Regions from separate parts of the Homo sapiens genome. Here all the other regions are linked to region 1. Evidence: promoter capture Hi-C in 16 types of primary human blood cells and fetal thymus (Javierre and others, 2016). All regions are on one chromosome and are shown on one strand. The core of a region is centred on a gene start or on the middle of the fragment in contact, and the rest is flanking DNA. Distances in the headings are between cores, read along the strand shown.

Region 1 (4,553 bases), core at 716-3,215:
AGTGAGACTCCGTCTCAAAAAAAAAAAAAAAAAAGAAATAGCACCATGATCTCAGACTCAACACATCCAGACTGAAACTCTGTCTGCTCAAAACCAATGCATCAACATAAACAGTATTATTTCCTTCCACATTTGAGACGTTCGTGTATCTCAACCTCTTTGTGGGCCTCGAAGTTGCAGAATTTGATAATAGATCCCAGCACAGAACTTTGCACACAGAAAATATTCGATGACAACTGGAGTGCCCTGGAGCCTTGTGATTATAGGAGCAGTACAATCGAGTGGTTAAGAGTAAGGGTTTTGAATCAGAGGGCCCGAGTTCAAACCCTGGCGCAGCCACTTTAGTGCATGAGACTGGTCACATCAAGTGACCCATCTAAGCCTCAGTTTCTTCATCTCTAAAATGGAAATTAATGGAAATTATAACATCACCTGCCTCAAGGACTGCAGACAAACGTCCACAAAGTGTCAAGCACATAGTAAATCCTCAATAAATACTGGTGGCTATGTACAACATCATTTATTCAGTGCCTACCAGGCACAGACCACGCACAACGCAACGGGATTTCCACCCTCTTCAATTTGCACCACACTTTTGTCCTTCCCATTTTATAGATAAGAAAACTAAGGCTCAACAGAGTCAAGCTTGTTCGAGGTCTTGGGAGCATCTCCCAGGGCATTAGAACTTTTGGAGGAAGAGCATTTAGTTCAGTAATGGTTCTCACCTGTGCGTGTGAGAGTGGAAGAGACCCCTCCCCCGCAACCCGAGCCATCTGGCAATGTTTGGAGATACTTTTGATCCTCACGACTTGGAGCATGGGGATACTGCTGGCATCTAGTGGGTAGAGGCCAGGAATACGGCTCAACTTCCTACATTGCACAGGGAAGCCCCCACTACCACCACAACCAAAAACTATCTGACCCCAAACATCAGTAGGGCCAACGTCGAGAAACCCTGCTCTAGACAGATCATTCTCCTCATCTTCCCATTTCTGGCCATCCGGATCTTAGATGAACACTTTCTAGCAAGGGGGCTCAGTCCCACCACGGGAAGCCCATGCAGAAGTTGTGCAGAAGTTCTTCTCCACCTGCCCTGCACACAGTAGGGACCAAAACCCATTTTAACAAGCCCCGCAGCCCAGAGCACCGGAAAAGGAAGGAAGGGCATCCATCCCCCATTGTTCAACTGTGTGCAGCTTGTGTTTCCAACAGGCACACACACATATTTTACAAATCCTAACGTCCCACGCCCCACAAACAGCTTTGTTAGAGATGGCGCTCAAAAAAAGATGCAGTTTAGATTTTTTTTTTCCCCCAGGACTCCCGTGTATCTACTGAAGGGTTTGCACACTTCTCAAAGGACCTCGCACCGGCCGCGGTGCTCTGACAACGACCACAAAAGAATCTGTGGGATTTCCCGGGGGAGCAAGCCCGTGGGCCGTGACCTCTGCGCGCTCAAAGCGTTCCCGGCGCTCCCCCGTAGCTGGCCCCACTCTCCCGCCCCCGGAGCCCGGGCTTCCAAGGCGACCGGGGCCCCCGGCCGTGCAGCCCGGCCCCCCGGCGCATGCCCACGCCGTATCCCCCTCGCCCGTCCCTCGAGGCGCCAGAGGAATCCGGCCCCGGGGCCTGTAGCCGGCGCCCACACCGGCCCGCCCCGACCCGCCCGCCGCGGCCCCAGCGCGCGTCCCCTCCCCCGGTCCGGCGCGGCCTGGGCCTCGGCCGGTGCAGGCCCGCGGGCGCCCCGCGGCCAGGCCAGGCGAGCTCAGGCCTGCCGCGGCCTACCCCGTCGGGCGCCGCCGAAGGCCCCCCACCGCCTCACCTGGATGCGGGCGGGCGGGCCCGGGGCTGCTCCGGGGCGGGCGGGAGGCGGCGGCGGCGCGGCGCTAACGGCTCCGCTCGGCCTCGGTAGCGGTGGCGGCGGTGGCGGCGACGGCGACGGCGGCAGCGGCTCCTCCTCAGCGCGCACGACCCGCTCCGGCCCGCGGCCCGGACACGCCCCCCCCGCGCGCGAGCCCATTGGCCGACGTCCGCCACGGCGCGCTGCTCATTGGCCGGCGTAGCTGTCGCGGCGCTCCGGGGCGCGCGGGAGAGGCGGGACTTCCGGTCGGCGCCGCCTGCGAAGTGCTCCGCGGCCGGCGGAGACGCGGGCAGCCAGCGATGGCCGCGGAGGGGGCGAACTGGGTTCCGGCCCTCGGAGGCTGACGGAAGGCGGTGGCTGAGGAGCGGCGCCTCTGGTTGAGCGCTCGCCGTGTGTCCCGCACCTGTCTGTCCTGCCGCCGCCCGGTAAGGTAGGAAAGGTCAGCGCGCCGGGGTTACGGGTACAGAACCTGGGTTCGAATCCCGGCCCCGACGTTTCCGCACTACGTGCCGTTGGGCAGGAGCTGACGTCACCTTGCCGGGCCTCAGTTTCCTTCTCTGGTGCGCTGAGGAGGCGGGGCATGGAACGTGGTCAGCGCTTCATCGGTGCTGGCTCTTTGAGCAAGCCAGTTCCCGAAGGCTCAGCATCTCATTCATTCATTAAAATGTCATTGAGCGCCTACTGTGTGTCAATCACTGTATGGGCAGTGAGCAGAAAAAAAATACCTGGTCTTATTGGGCTAACATTCTAAACCAGCGCTGGCCTAGAATGCCCTAGTAGAAATACATGCAAGCTACATGTTTAATTTTTTTTTATGTAAAGATGGGCTCTGGTTCTGTTGCCCAGGCTGGTCTCGAACTCCTGGACTCAAGCGATTCTCCTGCCTCCGCCTCCCAAAGAGCTGGGATTACAGGCATGCCTGCACTCTGCCTAATTTTTTCTTTTTTTTTTTTATGATCTGAAAATAATAGTCTTTTTATTTTTATTTATTTATTTATTTATTTGAGACGGAGACTCGCTCTGTCGCCAGGCTGGAGTGCAGTGGCGTGATCTCCGCTCACTGCAACCTCCGCTTCCCAGGTTCAAGCGATTCTCCTGCCTCAGCCTCCTAAGTAGTTGGGCCTACAGGCGCTGCGCCACCACAACCAGCTAATTTTTGTATTTTTAGTAGAGACGGGGTTTCACCGTGTTGGCCATGATGATCTGTATCTCTTGACCTCGTGATCTGCCCGCCTCAGCCTCCCAAAGTGCTGGGATTACAGGCTTGAGCCACTGCGCCTGGCCTACAATTTTGTTTTTCTTTTTTTTTTTTTTTTTTTGAGACAGGATCTCACTCTGTCACCCAATTTGGAGTGCGGTGGTATGATCACAGCTAACTGCAGCCTCAACTTCCCCAGCTCAGGCAATCAATCCTCCGGCTTCAGATTCCTGAGTAGCTTAGACTACAGGATGTGCCACTATGCCTGGCTAATGTTTTATTTTTTTGTAGCGATGAGGTCTTGCTGTATTGCCTAGGCTGGTCTCAAACTTCTAGACTTAAGTGATCCTCCTGCTTTGGCCTCCCAAAGTGTTGGGATTACAGGCGGGAGCCACGGTGCCCAGCCTGTTTCTTTTTTTAATCATATTTTCTTAGAAGTTTTTTTTTTTTTTTTTTTTTTTTTTGGAGACAGGGTCTCACTCTGCTGTGCAGGCTGGAATGCAGTGGTGTGATCTCAGCTCACTGCAACCTCTGCCTCCCTATTCAAGTGATTCTCGTGCCTCAGCCTCCCAAGTAGCTGGGATCACAGGCGTGCAACATCACACCCAGCTAATTCTTGTGGTTTTAGTAGAGATGGGGTTTTGCCATGTTGGCCAGGCTGGTCTCAAACTCCTGGCCTCAAGTGATCCACCCACCTCGGCCTCCCAAAGTGCTGGGATTACAGGCATGAGCCACCACCCGGCCTAGGAAAGCTTTTTAGAGATTGGGTCTCACTGTGTTGCCCAGGCTGGAGTGCAGTGGCTGTTCACAGGTGCAATCATCCCACAGGTTTAACTCCTGACCTCAAGCAGTCCTTCTGCCTCAGGCTCCCAAGTAGCTGGGATTATAGGCACGTGCCACCACACCTAGCTCAATTAAATGTTAAATTTAACATTTAATTGTTAAATTTTATAGTAGCCAGCATTCTGGGTCATCACGGTGCAATAGAAGTATAAACAAAGCAGGCCAGGCACAGTAGGTCACGCCTGTAATCCCAGCACTTTGGGAGGCCGAGGCGGGCAGATCACCAGGTCAGTAGTTCGAGACCAGCCTGGCCAACATGTTGAAACCCCAGTCTCTACTAAAAATACAAAAATTAGCTGGACGTGGTGGCAGGAGCCTGTAATCCCAGCTACTCGGGAGGCTGAGGCAGGAGAATCGCTTGAAACTGGAAAGTGGAGGTTGCAGTGAGCCGAGATCCCGCCACTGCACTCCAGCCTAGGTGAAAGAGGGAAATTACATCTCAAAAAAACAGTATAAGCAAGCCACAGATTTGTCAGCGAGGTATGTAATTTAAATTGGTACATTGTTAGCCATGTTTAAAAATAAGTAAAAAGAAACGGGTGATGTTAGTTGTAATGTGTTTTATTTAACTCAGTAGGTTGAATATGTTATTATTTAAACATGTAGTCAATATTTTAAAATACAGGATGTTTTGCATCTGTTATCTTTCCAAAA
Region 2 (4,553 bases), core at 1,092-3,591, 440 kb after region 1:
CCTATCTGTACCAAAAAATAAAAATAAAAAATTAGCCAAGTGCAGCGGCGTGCACCTACAGTCCCAGCTACTTGACAGGCTAAGCAGGGGAGGATCGCTTGAGTTCAGGAGTTCAAGGTTGCAGTGAGCTATCATTTACAAAGGTAGATTGAAATATTATTGATAGGCTGGGCACGGTGACTCACACCTGTAATCCCAGCACTTTGGGAGGCTGAGGTGGGCAGATCACCTGAGGTCAGGAGTTTGAGACTAGTTTGGCCAGCATGGCAAAACCCCATCTCTACTAAAAAATACAAAACTTAGCCAGGCGTCGTGGTGTGCACCTGTAATCCCAGATACTTGGAAAGCTGATGCAGAAGAATCGCTTGAAATCAGGAGGCGGAGGTTGCAGTGAGCTGAGATGGTGCCACTGCACTCCAGCCTCTGTGACAGAGCAAGACTGTCTCCAAAAAAAGAAAAAAATATATTATTGATAATCGCTGCATTGAAGGCCAGGCGCAGTGGTTTACGCCTACAATCGCAGCACTTTGGGAGCCTGAGGCAGGCGGATCACGAGGTCAGGAGTTCGAGACCAGCCTGACCAATATGATGAAACCTTGTCTCTACTAAAAATACAAAAGTTAGCCGGGCGTGGTGGCATGCACCTGTAATCCCAGCTACTCGGGAGGCTGAGACAGGAGAATCGCTTGAACCCAGGAGGCGGAGGTTGCAGCGAGCCGAGATGGCGCCATTGCACTCCAGTCTGGGCAACAAGAGCGAAACTCCGTCTCAAAAAGATAATCGCTGCATCTTACTGCCCAAGTTGCCACAAGCACACGTAACATCTGATGGTGCCAATTCGACTGTCTGCACTTGGAAAATGGCACATTGGAGGCTGCACAGCACCATAAAACTGATGCCACGAATGCACACAAAAATAAGACCATACAGCATTATGCCTAGTACAGAATACACCCTGAATTCTGTCACAGTTCACTTTATGCAACATTGCAAGAGTCCTCTCGCTCTTTATTATTATTTTTAATTTTTTTGAGATGGGGTCTCACTCTGTGACCAGGCTGGAGTGCAGTGGCCCGATCTTGGCTCACTGCAACCTCCTCCTCCTGGGTTGAAGCGATTCTCCTGCCTCAGGCTCCCCAGTAGCTGGGATTATGGGCGCCTGCCACCACACCCGGCTAATTTTTGTATTTTTAGTAGAGACAGGGTTTCATCATGTTGGCCAGGATGGTCTGATCTCTTGACCTCGTGATCCACCCGCCTTGGCCTCTCAAAGTGGTAGGATTACAGGCGTGAGCTGCCGCGCCCAGCCATTAATTTTTTTTTTAATTTTGTTTTTAACTTTTAGGTTTGGGGGTAAATGTGAAGGTTTGTTAAATAGGTAAACACTTGTCATGGAGGTTTGTTGTACAGATTATTTCATCACCCAGGTATTAAGCCCAGTACTCAATACTTATCTTTTTGTTTTTTGAGATGGAGTCTCAGTCTATCTCCCAGGCTGCGGTGCAGTGGCGTGATCTCGGCTCACTGCAACCTCCGGCTCCTGGGTTCAAGCGATTCTCCTGCTTCAGCCTCCCGAGTAGCTGGGATTACAGGCGCCCGCCACCACGTCCAGCTAATTTTTTTATTTTTAGTAGAGACGCGGTTTCACCATGTTGGCCAGTCTGGTCTCGAACTCCTGACCTCAGGTGATCCGCCGCCTCGGCCTCCCATACCCAAAGTGCTGGGATTACAGGAGTGAGCCATCGCGCCTGGCCCCATTATTAGTGAATTTTAACAGTTTTCCGTTTCTTCTGGACGAACTGTTTGCAATTATAATGCGAATTACGGATAATACTCTGATATTATTCCATGCCGTTCCGTTGTTGCCTACAAAGTTCGCGCTGGAGAACCGCGCAATTGCGTTACAAAAAGAAAAAAATCACACAAAAAGACACAATGTTTTAAGAAAGTTTACGAATCGTGTGCCGGACCGCGGGTTGAACAAGCTTCATCTAAAACTTCCAGGAATCTCTAGACAGGATCATTGCTTCCCCTCTGCTCCAGCTCTGGTTACAGAAAGCTGAGAGTGACTAGGTCTAGGTGTTTGTGTGGGGTGGGGTGGGGAGATGCCTCCTCTATCGGACTCAGAGGACGCGCGCCGGGAACAGCCAGTCGGTGCCTAACGCGAGTGTATCTCGAGAGAGAAGCGATCAACAGCTGCCGGTCTGCGCCTGCGCGCGGCGGGGGCGTGGCCCGGGGCGAGTGGGGCCAAGGAGGCAGCCGGGAGCGGCGGGCGCAGGTGTTACTGGTTGCGTCGGGTCACGTGGGCGCGCAGGCGCAGCGCGGTGCAGCCCGTTCGCTCACACAAAGCCCAGACGCGGAGAAAATGGCGGCAGGGGTCGAAGCGGCGGCGGAGGTGGCGGCGACGGAGATCAAAATGGAGGAAGAGAGCGGCGCGCCCGGCGTGCCGAGCGGCAACGGGGCTCCGGGCCCTAAGGGGTGAGTATCCCACGGTCCTTTGCCACGGGTAAGGGTTCCTCTCCGCGGCCGACGCGGGCGGCGGCTCCGTTAGGTCTGTTGGCGGCCTAGCCCCGGCGCGGCCTCGGCCCCGGCTGTTCCCGTACCGCCTGCTCAGGGTAGCGGCGTCTAGGGCCGTGAGCGGGGAGCCGGGGGAGCCTCCAGAATCGTCCCCTACACCGGGCCTCGAGCCTCGCCACCCTCAGTCCCTCCAGGCCGGGGCCAACCCCGTAGTCGAGGCCTCAGGCCCAGCTGCTGCGCATGGGGGTTGATGGCGCGGGCCCGGACCGGAGAGCCTCCGAGGCCTACCCGACCGCTCCCCGGGAGGGTGACCTCGGGGGCCGGGTTTCAGCCCCCCGTCCCCTCTCCTCCCGGGGTCTGTTTTCTGATCCGTAACGTGGGGGGAGGAGAGAGGGTGCGCGCCCGGGAGGCCTCGCGCGCAGTCAGCCCGAGTCAACGGTAACCGAGCGAGGGAAGCGTCAGGAAGGGCCGCGAAGCCGGGTCGGGGGGCTCCCCTCCTGCCCCGCCCCTTAGTCCCCGCGCGCCGACCGCGCTCCGCGGGAAGTGCCTCCCTCGGAACCGCCCCTCGCCCCACGCTCTGGCCCTGGCTCAAGTCCCTCGCCGTTTCCCGCTCCTCCTCCCCGGGTGCGCCGCAGGTATTAGTGGAGAGATGGGATCTGCTGCTTAGCGTTCACCCTCGGAAGCAGACAGATACGAAGTCGGGGGAGGAATCCCCTTTTTCCCGTGTTTCGGGGAAGCTGTTCTGTCAGGAGGCGGGTTCATTTACTTCCAGACTTCATCAGCTTTTCGAGTCCTGCTTGGGGCTCTTTGACTCCTTGGCTTTTAAAAGTTTCTTTAAAGGAGGAAGCATCGACTTGTGCCCCGGTGAAACTCATTCATTCTGATTACAGACACTTAAGAGAGACAGAGAGGTTTTGGCTCCAAGATCAGCGGCCGGGAAGGAAGGGGAAGCCTGGGTACACATTGAATTTCCCAGACATTTATTTCATTGTGGTAAAATAGACATAACGTAGACTTTGCCATTTTAACCATTTTTTAAGCGTATAATTCAGTGGCATTGAGTATACTGACTCAGTGTGCTGTAACCGTCACTGCTTCATGTCCAGAACTTTTTCATCATCGGAAACAGAAAGTGTAGCTATTAAATACTAACTCCCTCCGTTTTCTTTCCTTTCTGTCTGTGACTTTGCCTTCCTCATATTGTAATGTGTGAAGCTTAGTTTATGGAGATTAAAAGTGAATGCGGTTGAGCACTTATATATTTAATTTTTTTCTTTGAGACAGGGTCTCCCTCTGTTACCCAAGCTGGGATGCAGTGGCACGATCACAGATCACTGCAGCCTCGAACTCCTGGGCTCAATCGATCCTTCCATCTCAGCCTCCTGAGTAGCTGGGATCACAGGCGCGGCACCACCATGCCCGGCTAATTTTTTGAAGAGAGGAGGTCTCCGGGTGTTGCCCAGGCTGGTCTGAAACTCCTGGGTTCAAGCCATCCTCCTGCCTAGGCCTTCCAAAGTGCTGAAGTTACAGGCATGAGCTACTGCGCCCTGCCTAGTTGAGCGCTTAGGTTAAGAACGTTCCCTAAGTGCTAGCTATATTGGTAGATAATAAATCCGGAGAAAATTCCAGATTCTTTCCCTCCTTAAGTAGGGAGAAATAAAATACCATGGTTACTGGCCCTTAGAAATGAGAAAAACTTCCTCTATTCCCAGCATTTTACTATTGAAAACTCTGGGAAGGAATGTGTTAATTTTGACTTTTTCAGCGTCTATCTACGGAAGCTGGTAGGATTTCTGAGGGTGGTATTTGGAGGGCTTTAAGATAAATTTATTTACCGTATGCAGGAAGGAGTGCTGGTAGAACCTTGCTAGATGATAGGGTAAATTAATAGATTACAAATTTTCCCTTTTCCCCTGTCCATTTTCAAATAGTCATTTTGTGACTGAGTCATTTTACAAATACATGTGGACTGTTGGAACCTGAAAATTGTAGAATAAAATAGCCGTTGTGAGAAAGAGGCTCAAAGTCTCAAAGTC
Region 3 (4,553 bases), core at 874-3,373, 410 kb after region 1:
GAGCTGAGACCACACCATTGCACTCCAGCCTGGGTGACAGAGTGAGACTCTGTCTCAAAAAAAAAAAAAAAAAATTAAAATTAAATAAAATATTAAAAACAACAACAACAACAAAACACCACAGTGTAACATACTAACCTCACACTGGAGAAACTGGCAGACACCATTTGAACCAAGTTAGCACAATCGATAGTGGACAAAATCAGCATTGTATGCATCCTGAAAACACAACGTCACATCTGTTTCCTGCCACAAATGCAAAATCATGAGAAAGTATTAGACAAATAGCAATGGAAGGACTTCCTGCAAAATTACTAGCCTGGAATTTTTGAAAAATATTGATGTCATGGAGAGAAGGTAAGATTGATAAAATGTTCCAGAAAGAGAGACTAAATTAGAGTCGTTAACAACAAAATACAATGCTTGATCCTGGGATGGATTTGGGATTTTTTGTTTTTTGACACAGGATCTTGCTCTGTTGCCCAGGCTGGAATGCAGTGGTGAGGTAATGGCTCACTGCAGCCCAGAACTCCTGGGCTCAATTGATCCTCTCACTTCAGCCTCCCAAGTAGCTGGGACCACAGGAGGATGCCACCACAACTGGCTAATATTTTTATTTTATTTTGTAGAGATGGGGTCTCACTGTGCTGCCCAGACTGATCTCAGACTCCTAGACCCAAGAGACCTTCCTGCCTTGGGCTCCCAAAGAGCTGGGATTGCAGACATGACTCACTGTGCCTGGCCTGGACTTTGGATTTTTAAAGGACTTTATTGGAAACTTTTCTTTTCTTTTTTTTGAGACAGAGTCTGGCTGTGTTGCCCAGGTTAGAGTGCAGTGGCAAGATCTCCGCTCACTGCAACCTCCACCTTGCAGATTCAAGCAATTCTCCTGCCTCAGCCTCCTGAGTAGCTGGAATTACAGGTGCCCACAACAAAACCCAGCTAATTATTTGTATTTTTAGTACAGACAGGGTTTCACCATGTTGGCCGGGCTGGTCTCGAACTCCTGACCTCAAATGATCCAAGTGCTGGGATTACAGGCATGAGTCACTGCACCTGGCCTTTGAATGGGCTCTGGGAATTACATGATAATATTAGATGAACATTAATTTTCTGATTTTGAAGGTTATACTGTGATTATGTGCAAAAGTGTGCTTATACTAAGTGAACATATAGTGCAGTATTTTTTTAAAAATTGATCTGTCTTAGAGATGGGGGTGGGTGAGTTTACTATGTTGCCCAGACTGGCCTCGAACTCCTGGGCTCAAGTGATCCTCTTGCCTCAGCCTCCAGAGCAGCTGGGACTACAGGCCTGGGCCACCACACTTGGCTAACTTTTATTTTATTTTATTTTATTATTTATTTATTTATGTATTTATTTGAGACAGAGTCTCACTCTGTCACCCAGGCTGGAGTGCAGTGGCGCGATGTCGGCTCACTGCAAGCTCTGCCTCCCGGGTTCACGCCATTCCTCTGCCTCAGCCTCCCGAGTAGCTGGGACTACAGGCGCCCGCCACCACGCCCGGCTAATTTTTTTGTATTTTTAGTAGAGACGGGGTTTCACCGTGTTAGCCAGGATGGTCTCGATCTCCTGACCTCGTGATCCGCCCGCCTCGGCTTCCCAAAGTGCTAGGATTACAGGCGTGAGCCACCGCGCCCATCCTTTTAAATTTTTTGTAGAGACGGGAACTCACCATGTTGCCCAGGCTGGTCCCCAACATCTGGCCTCAAGCGATCCTTCCGTCTCGGCCTCCCAAAGTGCTCCGATTACAGGCATGAGCCACTGCACCCGGCCAGTCTCAAAAAAAAAAAAGTTAAATTCTGCAGAGGTTTTATTTATTAGAGGACGCTGGCCGTCTGCAGGTGGCGCAGCAGCACCCCCTCGTGCCTGGGGCGGGGCTGGGGCGGGGCCAGTGCTGGGGCGGAGCCGGAGCTGGGGGCGGAGCCAAGACGCGGCAGGGGCGGAGCCAGCAGCTGCGGCACAGCGGGGCCTGTGCGGCCCAAGTCGTCCCTGTGGCCTCCGGCCCCGCCTCTTAGGGCGGGACGTGCAAGGCGATTGGCGAATGCAGGCGAGAGGCGGTCGCTATTGGTCCGCGGCGCTGTCGGCTCGGCGGGCGGTGCCCGGACGCAGGTGCCGGCCGGAGCGGAGCTAGTGGCGCCGACGGGCCGGGCCGGGCCGGGACCGGGGCCGAGGCGAACCGAGGGGCCTGTGCGGCCGCCCGGCCCGGCCGCGGATCAGGTAGGCACGGGCCTGCAGGTAGGGCCGGAGGACGCCAGTCCGCGGGCCGGCCCCGGGTTCGAGGCCGGAGCTCGGCACCCGGGCGGGACGGCTGGGCTCGATCCCTTGGCCACAGCCTTCTCGGGGACGCGGGGACCTCAGTTCCCGTGTCAAGGCCGGTGGGAGGTCTCCGGGGTCCGGCACACATAGGCGCCTCTCCGAGCCTCGGTTTCCCCACCTGTGAAACTGGGTCATCCCATTGCCAACCTGATGGGGCTTCTGGGAGGATTCAGGAGGTGGCTGGTGCAGAAAACGCCTGACACACAGTAGGCAACTGCTAAGTGGCCAATGCCCTTCCCCAACCTCCTTCTCAGAGCGGCTCTGCCTGCAAAATAGTAAGTTATAATATAATGACCCAGCCACTTTGCACAAAGATGCTGAAACAGGATGCCCTGTGCTATGTGGGTGCTCAAAACGGGGTAGTCAAATGGGCATGTTGAGCTCATTCAGTTCTTTTGAAACCATACTGAGTAGGTGGAAGCAGTAGAAATGTCCCCTGTTATACAGTTGAGAGAGTCCAGGCTCAAAGAGGTTAAGTGTCTTGCCCAGGGCCACACAGCACATAAGGAGTAGAGCTGGGATTGGAACCTTGCTTCTCATGCAGGGAGGAATGAATGCAATAACAACCTCCACATTTACCCTAAAAAATATTAATAGAGCTTTTATTGAGCACTTACTGTGTGTGCCAGGGTTGACTGTGTGACCTCTCATCAACAACTCTGTAAGCTGATGATAGTAATTATAATAAGAGCTAATAGTTATTAACTTCTTAATTTTTTACTAATTTATGAACTACATATCATTATGACTCCCCGTCTTTTTTTTTTTTAGACAGAGTCTCTCTCTCTTGCCCAGGCTGGAATGCAGTGGCACGATCTGAGCTCATTGCAACCTCTGCCTCCCAGATTCAAGCGATTCCTACCTCACCCTGGTCAAGTAGTTGGGATTACAGGCCCCCGCCACCGTGCCTGGCCAATTTTTGTCTTTTTAGCAGAAACGGGGTTTCACCATGTTGACCAGGCTGGTCTCGAACTCCTGGCCTCAAGTGATCCACCTTCCTTGAACTCCCAAAGTGCACAAAGTGCTGGGATTACAGGCGTGAGCCACTGCGCCCGGCCTGTAACACTCATTTTAGAGATGATAATACTGAGGCTGAGAGAGTAAAACAGCTGCCTGAGACCACAATGTAGGGAGTTTTAGGGCCCTCTGATTCCTCTGCCCTCTGTTTCCTACCTTCAGGAAAAGGAGCCTGGGCAGGTATGGAAAAGACTGGGGGGCCTCAGTGCCACCCTAAACAAGCCTAGCTAAGGGTGAGCTTTACTGGATGAATTCAGCCTGGAGGCTCCTTCTCAGGAGACCCCTCCACGGACAGAGTCCACCAGCTCCATCATTAGAATGAGGCCCAGAGAAGCAAAGTGACTTGAACCAGGACACCCAGCATCGGTGGCATAGCCAGGAGGGCCAGGAGTTAAAGAACCCAGGTCTCTTGAGGTCCAGAACCACTCCCTGGACTGTTTTAAGTTCAAATTCTGACACCACCCCTTCCTAGCTATATGACCTTGGGAAAGTAGGTGCCTCTCTCCGAGCTTCAGCCTCTTTCCCCATCATAGGGTGTAATTATTGGTTTGTTGTGAAGACTCAATGAGATCTATCTCCAGGCCGGGCGTGGTGGCTCATGCCTGTAATCCCAACACTTTGAGAGGCCAAGGCGGGCAGATCACTAGGCCAGGAGTTCAGGACCAGCCTGGGCAACTTGGCAAAACACCATTTCTACAAAAAAATACAAAAATTAGCTGGATGTGGTGGTGTGCAGAGCTACTCAGGAGGCTGAGGTGGGAGGATCACCTGAACCTGGGGGCGGTGGAAGCTTCAGTGAGCTGTGATTACTACACTGCCCTCCAGCCTTTTGGGTGACAGATTGAGACCCTGCCTCAAAAGAAAAAAAAAAAAAAACAGACAAAAGAAAGAAAAGAAATAGGCCAGGCGCGGTGACTCATGCCTGTAATCCCAGCACTTTGGGAAGCCAAGGCGGGTGGATCACCTGAGATAAGGAGTTTGAGACCATCCTGGCCAACATGGTGAAACCCCGTCTCTACTAAAAATACAAATAATTAGCCAGCTGTGGGTGGAGGGCACCGGTAATCCCAGCTACTCTGGTGGTTGAGGCAGGAGAATCGCTTGAACCTGGGAGGCGGAGGTTGCAGAGAACCGAGGTGGTGCCATTGCTCTCCACCCTGGGCAACAAGAGTGAAACTCCATCTCAAAAAAAAAAAAA

The links. The method cuts DNA at HindIII sites, captures the fragments that hold promoters and counts their contacts. A CHiCAGO score of 5 or more calls a contact.
Region 2: the fragment with the promoter of HNRNPM here is called in contact with the fragment with the promoter of ELAVL1 in region 1 in 12 of 17 cell types (fetal thymus, naive B cells, activated CD4 T cells and 9 more); the score reaches 12.9 in fetal thymus.
Region 3: the fragment with the promoter of MARCHF2 here is called in contact with the fragment with the promoter of ELAVL1 in region 1 in 7 of 17 cell types (total CD4 T cells, total B cells, naive CD8 T cells and 4 more); the score reaches 7.1 in total CD4 T cells.

The regions. Positions count from the first base shown.
Region 1 is chr19:8,003,676-8,008,228 of GRCh38, forward strand. It overlaps ELAVL1 (ELAV like RNA binding protein 1), which reads right to left and starts at 1,966. Exons shown (of 6, transcript NM_001419.3): 1 at 1,820-1,966. LOC105372266 (a long non-coding RNA gene) reads left to right here and starts at 2,138. Exons shown (of 4, transcript XR_936302.2): 1 at 2,138-2,283. RefSeq lists silencers at 1,342-1,391, 1,422-1,621, 1,852-2,341. The HindIII fragment of the contact is 3,163 bases long and covers 644-3,806 here.
Region 2 is chr19:8,442,634-8,447,186 of GRCh38, forward strand. HNRNPM (heterogeneous nuclear ribonucleoprotein M) reads left to right here and starts at 2,342. Exons shown (of 16, transcript NM_005968.5): 1 at 2,342-2,478. The coding sequence starts at 2,366. RefSeq lists silencers at 2,101-2,380, 2,621-2,850. The HindIII fragment of the contact is 1,747 bases long and covers 1,984-3,730 here.
Region 3 is chr19:8,411,182-8,415,734 of GRCh38, forward strand. MARCHF2 (membrane associated ring-CH-type finger 2) reads left to right here and starts at 2,124. Exons shown (of 5, transcript NM_001005415.2): 1 at 2,124-2,239. RefSeq lists enhancers at 584-878, 1,749-2,249 and silencers at 1,741-2,100, 2,131-2,290, 4,444-4,553. The HindIII fragment of the contact is 7,216 bases long and covers 1-4,143 here.